Regions from separate parts of the Homo sapiens genome. Here region 2 is linked to region 1. The links are contacts of gene promoters, found by promoter capture Hi-C in blood cells and fetal thymus (Javierre and others, 2016). All regions are on one chromosome and are shown on one strand. The core of a region is centred on a gene start or on the middle of the fragment in contact, and the rest is flanking DNA. Distances in the headings are between cores, read along the strand shown.

What was found. The method cuts DNA at HindIII sites, captures the fragments that hold promoters and counts their contacts. A CHiCAGO score of 5 or more calls a contact.
Region 2: a fragment that was not itself captured here is called in contact with the fragment with the promoter of GFPT2 in region 1 in 1 of 17 cell types (erythroblasts); the score reaches 5.2 in erythroblasts.

Annotation. Positions count from the first base shown.
Region 1 is chr5:180,350,372-180,356,978 of GRCh38, reverse strand. It overlaps GFPT2 (glutamine-fructose-6-phosphate transaminase 2), which reads left to right and starts at 3,643. Exons shown (of 19, transcript NM_005110.4): 1 at 3,643-3,768. The coding sequence starts at 3,762. RefSeq lists a silencer at 3,387-3,616 and an enhancer at 4,989-5,489. The HindIII fragment of the contact is 14,264 bases long and covers 1-6,607 here.
Region 2 is chr5:180,662,187-180,668,482 of GRCh38, reverse strand. No RefSeq gene overlaps it. Among named protein-coding and RNA genes, the nearest start is that of FLT4, 16 kb to the right of the region's middle. The HindIII fragment of the contact is 3,284 bases long and covers 1-3,071 here.

The sequences.
Region 1 (6,607 bases), core at 2,394-4,893:
AGGGCAAAGGGAGATCAGGAAGAACAGGTGACCACTCCAGGTCACCCTGCAGCCATAGCCCAGCCAGATTCAGGCAGAGCTGGGCTGGTGGAAACTGGTAGAGAGGACCCTGATGACAGCATGAGAATTGGCGAAAGTCCAGCCTGGATCCCACAGGAGTTGGAGGAGGCCTTCATCCTACCATGGGCCACATAACCCTCCCCAGACCGTAGTGGAAATGTCACAGGGAAAAGCAGCTGAACAGGGCCTGTGGCCAAGGGATGGCAGGTGTAGTCCTCATCTACCTGGACAGCCATGGGACCCAGCTGGGCAGTTTGTGTTGGGGGTAGAGCCTGGGGGAGGGGAAAAGATCTCTGGGTTGTTCGGGAGAAGCCAGATCAATGAGCAAATCTCCCAACTATCAAGTGCTTGCAAAAGCTGTGTAGGTGAAGCAGCCAGGTCTTTGGCTCACTTGCTGGCCAGAAGGGTGGAGGCACTCCGGGAAAGTGTGGCTGGGGCCAGCGGTGGAGAGCAGGATGGGCAGTGGACACTGGGACCATTAGGAGCAGACTCAGCACCCTGCTCCCCTGTAAGCACAGGTATGGGGTCCAGCTGAGAGAGGCACCTGGGCATGGCTCCCCGTGTAAGCACATGTATGGGGTCCAGCTGAGAGACGCTCCTGGGCACGGCCCTGCATCTTCCCTCCTCCTGGGCCCCCTGATCCAGACCAGGTCTCCTTTCTGGGCTGCCACCGGCTTCCTGCCTACCCACTCCCCTGGGCCTCAGACTTTAGTTCCAGCACGATCCAAGAGTCAGGACTCTACTTGGTTGCAAATGACAGAAGTCACTTCAGAGTACCTCAAGCAAAGATGAGAATTTATTGAGCCCTGATACTGAGAAGTCCAGGGATAAATCCTGGCTTCAGACCTGGCCGAATCCAGGGGCTCTGATGTGTATCGTCTCCATCCTAGATCCATCTGCCTTGCTCCGATTGCCCCGCTCTTCAGTGGCCTCTCTCCACCCCACTGCAAAAGTGATGAGAAGGTCCCAGCATCATCAGGACATTCTCCTACCAGCCACACCACTCAGGAGAGAATAAGCCATCTTTTTTACTTAAAAAAATTATTTTGTAGAGACAAGGTTTTAATATGTTGTCCAGGCTGATCAAGCAGTCCTCCCGCCTCCTGAGTAGCTGAGACTACAGGCACGTGCCATCACACCTGGATTTTTGTTTTGTTTTGAGACAGTCTTGCTCTGTCGCCCAGGCTGGAGTGTAGTGGTGCAATTTTGGCTCACTTCAGCCTCCACCTCCCAGTTTCAAGCCATTCTCGTGCCTCGGCCTCTCGAGTAGCTGGAACTACAGGTGCACATTACCACACCTGGCTAATTTTTGTGTTTTTAGTAGAGACGGGTTTTGCTGTGTTGCCCAGGCTGGTCTCGAACTCCTGGGCTCAAGCAATCCCAAAGATCTCAAACTTTTGCCCCCCAAAGTGGTGGGATTACAGGCATGAGCCATTGCACCCAGCGTGCCTGGCTTTTTTTTTTTTTTTTTTTTTTTTTTTTTACTTTTTGTAAAGATGGGTCTCCCTGTTGCCCAGGCTGGTCTCCAACTTCTGGCCTCAAGCAGTTCTCCCACCTCAGCCTCCCAAAGTGCTGGGATGACAGACCCAAGCCACTGTACCAGGCCAAGTTCATCTTTTCTGCTGGTTTCCCTCATGTGCTGGAGCAGGTCATCAACGTCCCAGCCTGGGCCATATGCTGACCTCTGAACCACTGCCCAGGCTGTGTGGCCAGGCCCAGGCCATCAACCTCCCAGATGACTCTCAGAGGGTTCTCAAAGCAGGAGTGATGCTAGGCCGGCAGCTGCTACAGACACATCCCCATGGGTGGTAGTGTGCACTCATGCCGTTCCTCACCGTGGACCTGTGACTCCTCCAGGAGGATAAAGGACAGATTTGGACCCTGCTAAGACCCCAGGGCTCCTGGGGTCTTGGTGCTATCAGAGGGCCTGTTGACATCACCCTGTCCCCGCCTCAGTTACAACAGTGGAGGCCAGTCTGGGCCAAACAACCTGATCTCCACATTCAAGTTCTAGCCCTCATCCAGGGGACCTTTGCACTGCCTGCTGCTCCCTCCTTCCTGGCTTCGCTAGGCTCTGGACCACCTGCACCAGCGCAGCCCTGCCCAGTCCCAGGCAGAGCCTGGCACCCTCTCCACCGCTGGCCCAGCCCCCTCCTTGTATCCTACCTGGAATTTTTAGCTCTCTGTGTAACCACGAGCTTAGTGTCTGCTTCCCCTTCACTTGTAAGTGCCAGGAGGGCAGGGCCAGATCTGTTCTCATTCATCAATAAGTCTCTTGCACCTGCACCCTGACAGGTGTGAAGTGGGTTCTTAGGAATGAGAGAAGGAAGGAAGGAAAGCGACCCTGCATAGTGGAGGGTTGGGGGCAAACGCTGCGGCTCCTGAATCGCTCTGAGATTTCCCAACAACAGGACTCACCCAAGCCCCCTCCTTCGCTGTCGTGGAGCCTCAGTTTTCCCAACCCTCCAATGGCACAACCTCCTTCCCCCAGGGCTTGCAGAGTCGCGGTGAAACTAGGGAGGGATTATGTTAGAAAAATGCTCTAGACGAGATGTAAAAATCTTTTTTTTTTTACACGACTGAGGAGGATCCGTTTAGAATTTCAGGATTTTTTTAAGAAAAAAAAAAACTTCAAAGTGCGCAAACGTTGGGCCGGTTCTCGTGACCTTCCTCGGGAGACGAGGGGCCCAGAGTGCAGGGGGAACGGGAGGGACGGCCGGGAACCAGGGCGGAGAAACGCGGGCCTTGGTGCCTCACTGGGGGGTCGGATTCCGACCCCAGGCGTAGGAACCCCCGGGTCCCTCGCGGGCCTGCAGCGCGAGGCAGATCTGGGGAGGGGGCAGCTCGGCGCGGGTGGGGTCGGGGCTTCCTGGGGCGCCTCCAGCTTCGTTCACAACCTGCGGAACCCTCGCCTTCAAGCTCGGGCTCCGCGGCAAATCCCAGGGTCGAATTCTGCCACCGCCGCGGCGTCCGGTTTTGGCAGAGTCCTTGTCTGCCTCCGGGAGCCTCGGTTTTCTCGTCTCTCCGCCAAGCCCGGGCGTTCTCTCCACGCAGGGTGAGGGCCAGGCTTAGAGGTCTGCGGAGCTCTGAAACAAGCCTGTCACTCAGATGGGAGCGCGGCAGGAACAGCGGCTCACGCGGGTTTCCGGAGCGCGCGAGTGATGCCGGACCCCTCGCTCTGCCCCTTACGCGGCCCGTCTGACTTCTCAGCACCCCGTGGGAGGGAGCTTCCCTGGGTAGCCCCGTTTCACAGACGGGAAAGCGGAGGCACAGCGCGATCGGGCCCTGCCCGGCTTCCACGCCTACTCTGGTTGAGTCGGGGTCTGAACTCGGGCCGTTGGTTGCCCTAAGCCCCGCTCCGGGATCTGGCGCCCGGCGCCCCAGCCTTACACGCCCGACCCGCGCCTGGGAGCCGCCCCTCGGCCCCCCTCCCTGGCTCCTGGGGGCCGGGTCCCGTCGTTGTCACGACAACCGGGGGCCAATGGGAGCAGGCGGGCGGGGGAAGCCCCGCCCCTTCCCCGCCCCCTTCCCCGCCCTCTCGGAGGGCTCCGGGTTATAAGGGCTGGAGGCCGAGCGGACGGGAGCTGGAGCCCGCGGAGCCCACGGAGCCCACGGAGCCCACGGAGGAGCCCACGGAGGAGCCCCAGCGTCCGAACGGGCAGACCCCCTCGAGCCGCGAAGGAGCCCGAGAAGCAGCCACGATGTGCGGTGAGTGCCGCGCCCGCCCGAGCCGCCTCCTCCACGCCGTCCGCGGGTCCCGGCGCCGCAGCCTCTCCGCGCCTCCGCCCGCAAGCAGGCGCCGAGGACCTGGCTGGGGGCGCCGATCTGCCCCGGGCCCCTACCGAGGGGCTGTCGTCGGCCGGGCCTGGCTGCCCCTCACCCGCGTTCCCCGAGTGGCCGTCTCGGAGGTGTGGGTGGGGGATGCCCAACCCGACTCCTGGTCTCGGACACAGTGAGGGGGACCGAGGCCCGGTCCCCACGGAGGGGAGGGACCTGGTCCGGTCCGGCCTGGACCCCGTAACAGAGGGGTCCCCACCCCATGCCGACCGAGGTCGCTCTCCTCCACGTCTCCCAGTCGCCCACAAAGGCGGCCACGCGCAGGCCGGCGCATCCCGAGTGCGGGGCGCCCATCCCGACTCAGCCCGCCGCGCCCACCGAGGAGAGGAGAGGCGACCCCGCCCCGCCGTCCCCGCAGCCCGCCCGGTCGCCCCCGCTGCGTCAGTGCCTCAGGCAGGGCCTGCGCGTCCTCCTCGCGACCCCAAAGGAACGTCTGGTCCCTAGAAGGGTCGCTGCCGCGTTACCGCCTCTTTGCGCGGGGAAGAGGCAGTCACTGCCCGAACCTCGGCCCGAAGCCACGAGAGGGAGTCCGGGGCGGGGAGCGGGGCCGGGCGTCCGATTCCCGCGGCGCTCCCGCGCTGTCCCGCGTGGCTGCGGGACCGTGGGGAGGGCGGCCGCGGCCCGGAGCGCACATCTGCAATTCTTTACTCTCCTGGCTGGGCCGCCTCCGCTGGCCGGGAGAGAGCCGGGAACTTCTGCTGGGACAAAAGGTCACTGTGCTCTTTTTTTTTTTTTTTTTTTTCCTTGAGTAGGATTCGGTTACCCATTCCAGCCTCCTGTGGCTGGAGGACCTGGAGGAACTTTCGAAGCCATGAAAGGCCTCTCTCTGACTTTGCTGAGGGCCGGGGTGGGGTGCGCCCGCGGTGAGCCCTGGCCGAGGTCTGTGCAGGCCTCTTGTCTCGGAGGCCAGCTGCTCGGCAGAAGGGAACGACCTACGGCGGAGCGGGCAGCGTGCTTCGGGATGCCGCCTCACCCAGGCTGAACAGGCATCCGTGGAAATTCCTGAACCCTCAGCTAAAATCTCGTGCTCCCAGACGCCATTCTCCATGTGTAGAGCCACCTTTGGGTGTTTCTGGGGGCAGAGATGAGGCAAAGGTGGTAGTTTTGCCAGATGTCCAAGCCCTGATGTTCCACACCTCTCAGTGTAGCATTCAAGACCCTTGGCCAAAACTGGTGGCCTTGGGGCCAGACTTGTGCAGGAGACCCTTGAACCAGGAGGGTCTGCCCACAGCACCAGAGGCTCCCCTTCCCCTTCCTTTCAGATGCTCCTCTGCCCCCACTGCCACCCCTGCCTGTCATCCTCCTTCCTACTGGCATCTTGCTTTTTCCCAAGTCTCTCTGAGCTTTGGGGGGGCTCTACCTCCTCCAGCTCACAAAATCACAAGTGTTTTTGTTCTGCTTCTTAAAGGGACACACACGCGTTGTCTCCTAGGGAAAGGTTGAGCTTTGGGGTGTGACCACCTGTATCTTCAGATTTTCTGGTACTGACTTGTGGTTGTATGTGAGAAGGAGCTTGAGGTCCCCAAAGGACACCCAGGGCTCAGGAGTGGCTGCGGTCCATGGGGGTGCCCACTCGGAGCCAGAATCAAAGAGTGCGTGCTGGCTTAGGTGCCTTCTCAGAATTCCCAGATTTGCTGATTTGGGGCTGGGGGCAGGGTGGGGGAAGTGGGGAGGGCACAGCTCAGCAGGAAGTCGTGGAATCCCTGCATGGGAAAGTTATTTCCTTTTCAAGAACATCAGGAGAAAGTTTCAACTTGGTGCTAACGTGTCCTTAACATCTCTCTGACACTTGCTTAAGTATCCTGTGCAGAGGGGAAGCCATTCCTGGCTCAGAGCAGGCAGCAGCAGCTGGCTAGAATTGAATACATTGGTCTGTTTGGGGGGGATGATGGTCTGAGTATGTATGACAAGTGATACTGATTTTCCTTTTATGGTTGTTTTCTTTTGGCATGAATTCATTTAAATTTTTGAAAATTTAATCAAATTCTGCAGAAGAAAAAGTAGTGATTATGCTATTAGTACAAGGATACTGCAAGAATCGTGAAGATGCTCCTAGAAAGAACCAGATAAGCTCTTCACTTTACGCTGGGGAAGCTGAGGCCCTGCGAAGTCTGTGCGCACCTGGCGTCTGAGCAGGCCTCGGGTCTCAGATCTCCTGGGCCGTTCCCTCAGGGGCGGAGACCTAAGGCCCTTCCTTATCACTTGGCTGATGACACTGCTGAGATTATGTCTTGCTGTCCTTTATCCTGCTGCTTCTCTCATGGGAAGCCAGGACTCGGCAGTAGTTGATCCTCTACAAACAGCAGATGATTCTCAAAAACTTTCAGTGCACTGAGAATTTAGCTGAAATGACACTTTGGTTTTATTGACATCTGAAAGTTGCTGGCATTTTGCTGACTTTCTGCGACAGAAAATTTACAATATTTCCTCCCTGTCTCTCTCCTTTCCTTCTCTGCTTCCTTTTTCATTCAGCCACTAGTGGAAATGCCCAGTGTTTTCCAGGCCCTGGGGGACTCGAAGATCTCATGGGTGTGGTCCTCCCCTCAAAGAAGGGGCAGGTGAGCCGCAGGGCTAGTCCAGAGACTGGTCACCAGCAGGGACGGGATGCCGATCAGGGCAGTGCTGCTGTGGAGGGAGGACCTTGAGCACGGGCTACAGCCTGGTAGAGTACTGGCCGAACAGGGAAGACAGACATCTTTTTGTTTGGTGC
Region 2 (6,296 bases), core at 180-2,679, 310 kb before region 1:
AATGTCGTAAGATTGTAAAGGGACAAGGTCTTCACATCGTCACTTTTGCTGAATTAAATTAACATGGCTAAGAGGCCGTTTCTTTTTCAAAGGGAGGAGAAATTGACTTCAATTCCTTTTTTTTTCTTTTTTTTTTTTTGAGATAGAGTCTCTCTCTCACCCAGGCTGGAGTGTAGTGGTGCGATCTCAGCTCACTGCAGCCTCCACCTACTGGGTTCACACAATTCTTCTGCCTCAGCCTCCCGTGTAGCTGGGATTACAGGCACCCGCCACCACGCCCAGCTAATTTTTTTGTATTTTTAGTAGAGATGGGGTTTCACCATGTTAGGCAGGATGGTCTCGAACTCCTGACCTTGTGATCCACCCACCTCGGCCTCCCAAAGTGCTGGGATTACAGGCGTGAGCCACCGCGCCCGGCCCCTGACTTCCATCCTTAACAGGAGAAGCTACAAACACACATTGTAAAAGTGCATGAATATAAGGAGAAGTGAGGCATGGTGGCCATCTTTGCCATCTACCACATTAATAGAAGAGAAAAAATAAAATAAAATAAAATAATAAAAAACTTGATGGATCCTTAAACTGTAAGAAAGAAGGAATAAATGAACCACAGAATGATGAAACAAATAGAAAACAAATAGTAATATGGTAGATGTCAACCCAAATATATCAGTAATTACATTAAATGTAAATGGACTAAAGTCAAAGATTGTCAGTCTGTTTTTCTTAAGCCAAGAGACATTTTAAATATAAGCATACAGCTACAGCCAGTTATGCTATAATACTTGTTTTAAATATTAGGGCCAGGCATGGTGGCTCATGCCTATAATCCCAGCACTTAGGGAGGCCAGGGCAGGTGGATCACCTAAGGTCAGGAGTTCAAGACCAGCCTGGCCAACATGGCGAAACCCTGTCTCTACCAAAAATAGAAAAATTAGCTGGGCGTGGTGGTGGGCACCTGCAATTCCAGCTACTTCGGAGGCTGAGGTAGGAGAATCACTTGAACCTGGAAGGCAGAGGTTGCAGTGAGCCAAGATTGCACCATTGCACTCCAGCCTGGGTGACAGAGCAAGACTCCGTCTCAAAAAAAAAAAAAACAAAACAAAACAAACCGTAAAACAAAAATTAGCTGGGCATGATGGCAGGAGCCTGTAATCCCAGCTACTCAGGAGCCTGAGGCAGGGGAATCACTTGAACTTGGGAGGCCGAGGTTGCAGTGAGCCGAGATCGTGCCACTGCACTCCAGCCTGGGTGAAAAGAGCAAAACTCCGTCTCTAAATAAATAAATATTGCCATTTTATTCAATGCACTGACATATTGGAGGGAATTTGAGCATAATGTGACTTTTGCATTTGTTCATACACGATTTCATTTGCAAAACACACCAAGTGCATGCAGAACATTATGCCCAGTCCAGCTGCTCAAGCAACGTAGAAGTGCGCAGAAAGCACACGCGCACACTTCCAGCTGGGTGTGTGACGAGCCACAGCCGTGCACATTTGGCCGGACAAACTTCCACCCCACCCAGTTTCAGACAACCTCCCTTCCACCACCTCACGGTAAACCATAAGCTACAGCCCTTCCAAAACCACTTTAACAAGCAGCCTTGAGGTCTTGTACAGGGTAAAATGCCGCATTGATTGTAGTGTTTATGTAGTTCTTAACTATTTAACCTGCGTAAACTGTGCTGTCAATTTCTTGGCAACAACTTTATTGAGATATAATTCACATACCGTATACTTAATGTGCCTTTCAGTATATTCACAGAGTGCTGCAGCCATCAGCACAACTGAACTCCTGACCCTGTGATCAGGAGAATGTTTCTGCCACTAGAAAGAAACCCCACACTCTTTAGGTAACACTCCCTCATGCTTCCATCCCTCCCCCACCCAAACCAATAAACAACCAGTAATCTACTTTCTACGTCTTTTCCCACTCTGGACATTTCATACAAATGAACTAGTATAATACGTGAGTTTTTTTGAGACTGGCTTTTTTTTTTTTTTTTTTTTTTTGAGACGGAGTCTTGCTGTGTCGCCCAGGCTGGAGTGCAGTGGCGCCATCTCAGCTCACTGCAAGGTCCGCCTCCTGGGTTCAAGCGATTCTCCTGCCTCAACCTCCTGAGTCGCTGGAACTACAGGCGCCCGCCACCACGCCTGGCTACTTTTTTTTTGTATTTTCGTAGAGACAGAGTTTCATCACGTCGCCCAGGTTGGTCTGGAACTTCTGAGCTCAGGTGATTCGCCCACCTCGGCCTCCCAAAGTGCTGGGATCACAGGTGAGAGCCGCCGCGCCCGGCCCTGACTGGCTTCTTTCAATTAGCATGATGTTTTCAAGATTCCTCTGTTATACCTCATTTCTTATCATGTGAGAATATTCCACCGTGTGAATACGCCACGTGGTATTTATCATTCACTAGTTGACGGACATGTGAATTGTTTCCATCTTTGGGTTATTCTCAATAATGCTGCTATAAGCATTTGTGCACACATTTCTGTGTGGACCTACATTTTCATTTCACTTCTCCTGGATCTACGTATGCCTGTGAGGGAAATTGCTGGGTCATATGGTAACTTGATGTTTAACATTTTGAGGAAGTGCCATAATGTTTCTAAAGTGACCATACCACTTACCACTCCCACCAGCAGTAGATGAGAACTCTTTGATTTCTCCACATCTTTGCCAACAACGTTTATTTTCCATTGTTTTGCTTATGCTCATCCTAGTTGGAATAAAGTGGTATCTCGTGGCTTACATTTGCATTTCCTTGGTGGATAATGATGCTGGGCATCTTTTCATGTGCTGATTTGGCCATTTGCACATCTTCTTTGGAGAAATTATTAAGATCCTTTGCCCATGTTTAATTGGGTTATTTGTGGTCTTTTTATTATTGACTTGTAACTGTTCTGTATAGATTCTAGATAAAGTTCCTTATCAAACATTTGATTTGCAAATATTTTCTCTCATTCCATGGTTTTTTAAATGTATAATGTCCTTTGATGCACAAAAATGTCTTAATTTTGATGTCTAACTTATCCGTTTTTTCTTTTCTTGAATATCCTAGCTAAGCTTCCATTGCCAAATGAAGATTTACTACTTGGCTTTCCTCAGAAGTTTATATTTTCATTTTTACATTTAGGCCTTGAGTTAATTTTTGATCCATTTTGAGTTAATTTTTGTCTATAGTGTGAGGTAAAGTTTCAACTTCATTGCTTATGGCTATCCAGCGGTACCAGCACCAGTTGTTGGAGAGGCCATTTCTTCTCGTGGTGAATGGTCTTAGAAGCCTTGTTAAAAATAAAATGACCAAGTAGAGAATTCTGGGAAGATGGAGGAGCAGGAAGCCTGAGAAATCTCTCTCCTCACCTAGACAATAATACTCACAGAATCTGTCTGTTGTAGCTATTTTGGAACTCTGAAGTCCATTGAAGGCCTGCAACTTCCAGGAAGACTCGGATGGTACATTGTGGTTAATTTTGGTCAGTGAGCTCTTAGCATAGTTGCAGCTGCCTGTTCCCCACCTCTCATCCCCACAGCAGGCAACTGTGCACGTTCCTGGAGCAGCTTACAGATCGATGACAGGAGCCAGGGTAGGTATGAGAGACCCTGTCCTCCAGATATTGAGTCTCTGTTCTGATCACTGATTGCTTCATCTGATCACAGAAGTGCAGACAAAGAGGCAGCAACCCTTGTTATTGCACTTTGCACTTTCTCCTTTTTTCTTTTTCTTTTGAGACGGAGGCTCGCTCTGTCGCCCAGGCTGGAGTGCGGTGGCGCGATCTCGGCTCACTGCAACCTCCGCCTCCCGGGTTCACGCCATTCTCCTGCCTCAGCCTCCTGAGTCGCCGGGACTACAGGCGCCCGCCACCACGCCCGGCTACTTTTTTGTATTTTTAGTAGAGACGGGGTTTCACTGTGTTGGCCAGGATGGTCTCGATCTCCTGACCTCGTGATCCGCTGGCCTCGGCCTCCCAAAGTGCTGGGATTACAGGCCTGAGCCACCGCGCCCGGCCACCTTCTCCCATTGTTACAAGCCCCTCCCTTGCTGGTAAAGTGACTTCCAGGGGACTTAAAGGACTGGTGACTTTTTCCCCCTTAATTTCTCTCTATTTCCCCTTCTTGGAGCCAGACAATAAAAAGTAGGACATTCAAAAGCAACTGCATATACAGGGGAAATTAGAAAGCTACCAAGCATGCCCAGGGGAAGGCGTAGTTTCAGAAAAGGCCTGAGAAGACCTTAAGGTTACACCTCAAGCTGGTCCTTAGCTCCAAGACAGTCTACAACAATTCCAAAAAAACAAAAAAGCAAAACACAAACAAATACAAAAGCAAAAAACAGCAAACCCTGGAGAAAGGGGAAATTCTGATTTTCAGAGTCACTAAAGTGTTAGATTCAAATGTCCAGTTTTTGACCAAAAAAAAAAAAACAAAACCAACAAGAGTATACAAAGAAACAGTAAAGTATGGCCCATTCAAAATAAAAAATAGACCAACAGGAACCATCCCTGCAAAAGAGCTGGGAGAGGATCCACTACACAAAGACTTCATACCAACTGTCTAAAATATGTTCAAAGAGGCCAGGCATGGTGGCTCATGCCTGTAATCCCAGCACTTTGGGAGGCCAAGGCAGGTGGATCATGAGGTCATGAGTTCAAGATCAGCCTGGCCAAGATGGTGAAACCCCGTCTCTACTAAAAATACAAAAAATTAGCCGGGCACGGTGGCAGGCACCTGTAATCCCAGCTACTCAGGAGGCTGAGGCAGGAGAATTGCTTGAACTCAGAGGGCAGAGGTTGCAGTGAGCCAAGACCGGGCCACTGCACTCCAGCCTGGGTGACAGAGTGAGACTCTGTCTCAAAAAAATATATATGTGTATGTGTGTGTGTGTGTGTGTGTGTGTGTGTTTTCAAAGAACAAAAAGAATCTGTGGAGAGGCCGGGTGCAGTGGCTCACGCCTGTAATCCCAGCACTTTGGGAGGCTGAGGCGGGTGGATCACCTGAGGTCAGGAGTTCGAGACCAGCCTGACCAACATGGTGAAACCCCATCTCTACTAAAAATACAAAAATTAGCTGGGCGTGGTGGCACACTCGCCTGTAGTCCCAGCTACTCAGGAGGCTGAGGCAGGAGAATCGCTTGAACCTAGGAGGCAGAGGTTGCAGTGAGCCAAGATCGTGCCATTGCACTCCAGCCTGGGGAACAGGGTGAGATTCTGCCTCAAAAAAAAAAAAAATCTGTGGAGAAAGTCAAGAAGATGTAAGAACTAAATGGAGGCCCAGGCGCGGTGGCTCACACTTGTAATCCTAGCACCTTGGGAGGCCAACGCGGGTGGATCACGAGGTCAGAAGATCCCGTCTCTACCAAAAAAATACAAAAAATTAGCTGGCCGTGGTGGCGGGCACCTGTAGTCCCAGCTACTCAGGAGGCTGAGGCAGGAGAATGGCGTGAACCTGGTAGGCGGAGCTTTCAGTGAGTCGAGATTGCGCCACTGCACTCCAGCCTGGGTGACAGAGCGAGACTCTGTCTCAAAAAAAGAAAAAGAACAAAATGGAAATGTCAATAAGGAAATAGAAAACCTAAAAAGAGCCCCCCAGAATTCTGGAACTGAAATGCACAATGACTGAGAAGAAAAATTTACTAGAGACGGTTTTCACTATGTTGACCAGGCTGGTCTTGAACTTCTGACCTCAGGTGATCCACTTGCTTCGGCCTCCCAAAGTGCTGGGATTACAGGCATGAGCTACCGTGCCCGGCCTACATTTTTTTTTTTTTTTTTTTTTGAGACAGAGTCTCTCTGTCACCCAGGCTGGAGTGCAGTGGCACAAACTTGGCTCACTGCAACCTCCACCTCCCAGGTTCAAGAGATTCTCTTGCCTCAGCCTCCCAGGTAGCTGGGACTACAAGCGCCCAACACCATGCCCAGCTAATTTTTTTTGTATTTTTAGTAGAGACGGAGTTTCACTATGTTGGTCAGGCTGGTCTTGAACTCCTGACCATGTGATCCACTTGCCTCAGCCTCCCAAAGTGCTGGGATTACAGGTGTGAGCCACTGCTCCTGGTAAACAAAATTTTTAAATGACAGAAGTAAGTCCCTCTTTATCAGTAATTAAGTGTAAATAGATTAAATGCTACAATCAAGAGATTGAAAGGGTAAAAACATGATCCAATTATATGCTGTCTACAAGACACTCATTTTAGATCCAAAGATACAAATTTGAAAGTGAAAAGATGGAACAGGATATTCCACAGAAACAGTAACCAAAAGATTGCCCGTGTGGCTATAGTGATATCAAACAAA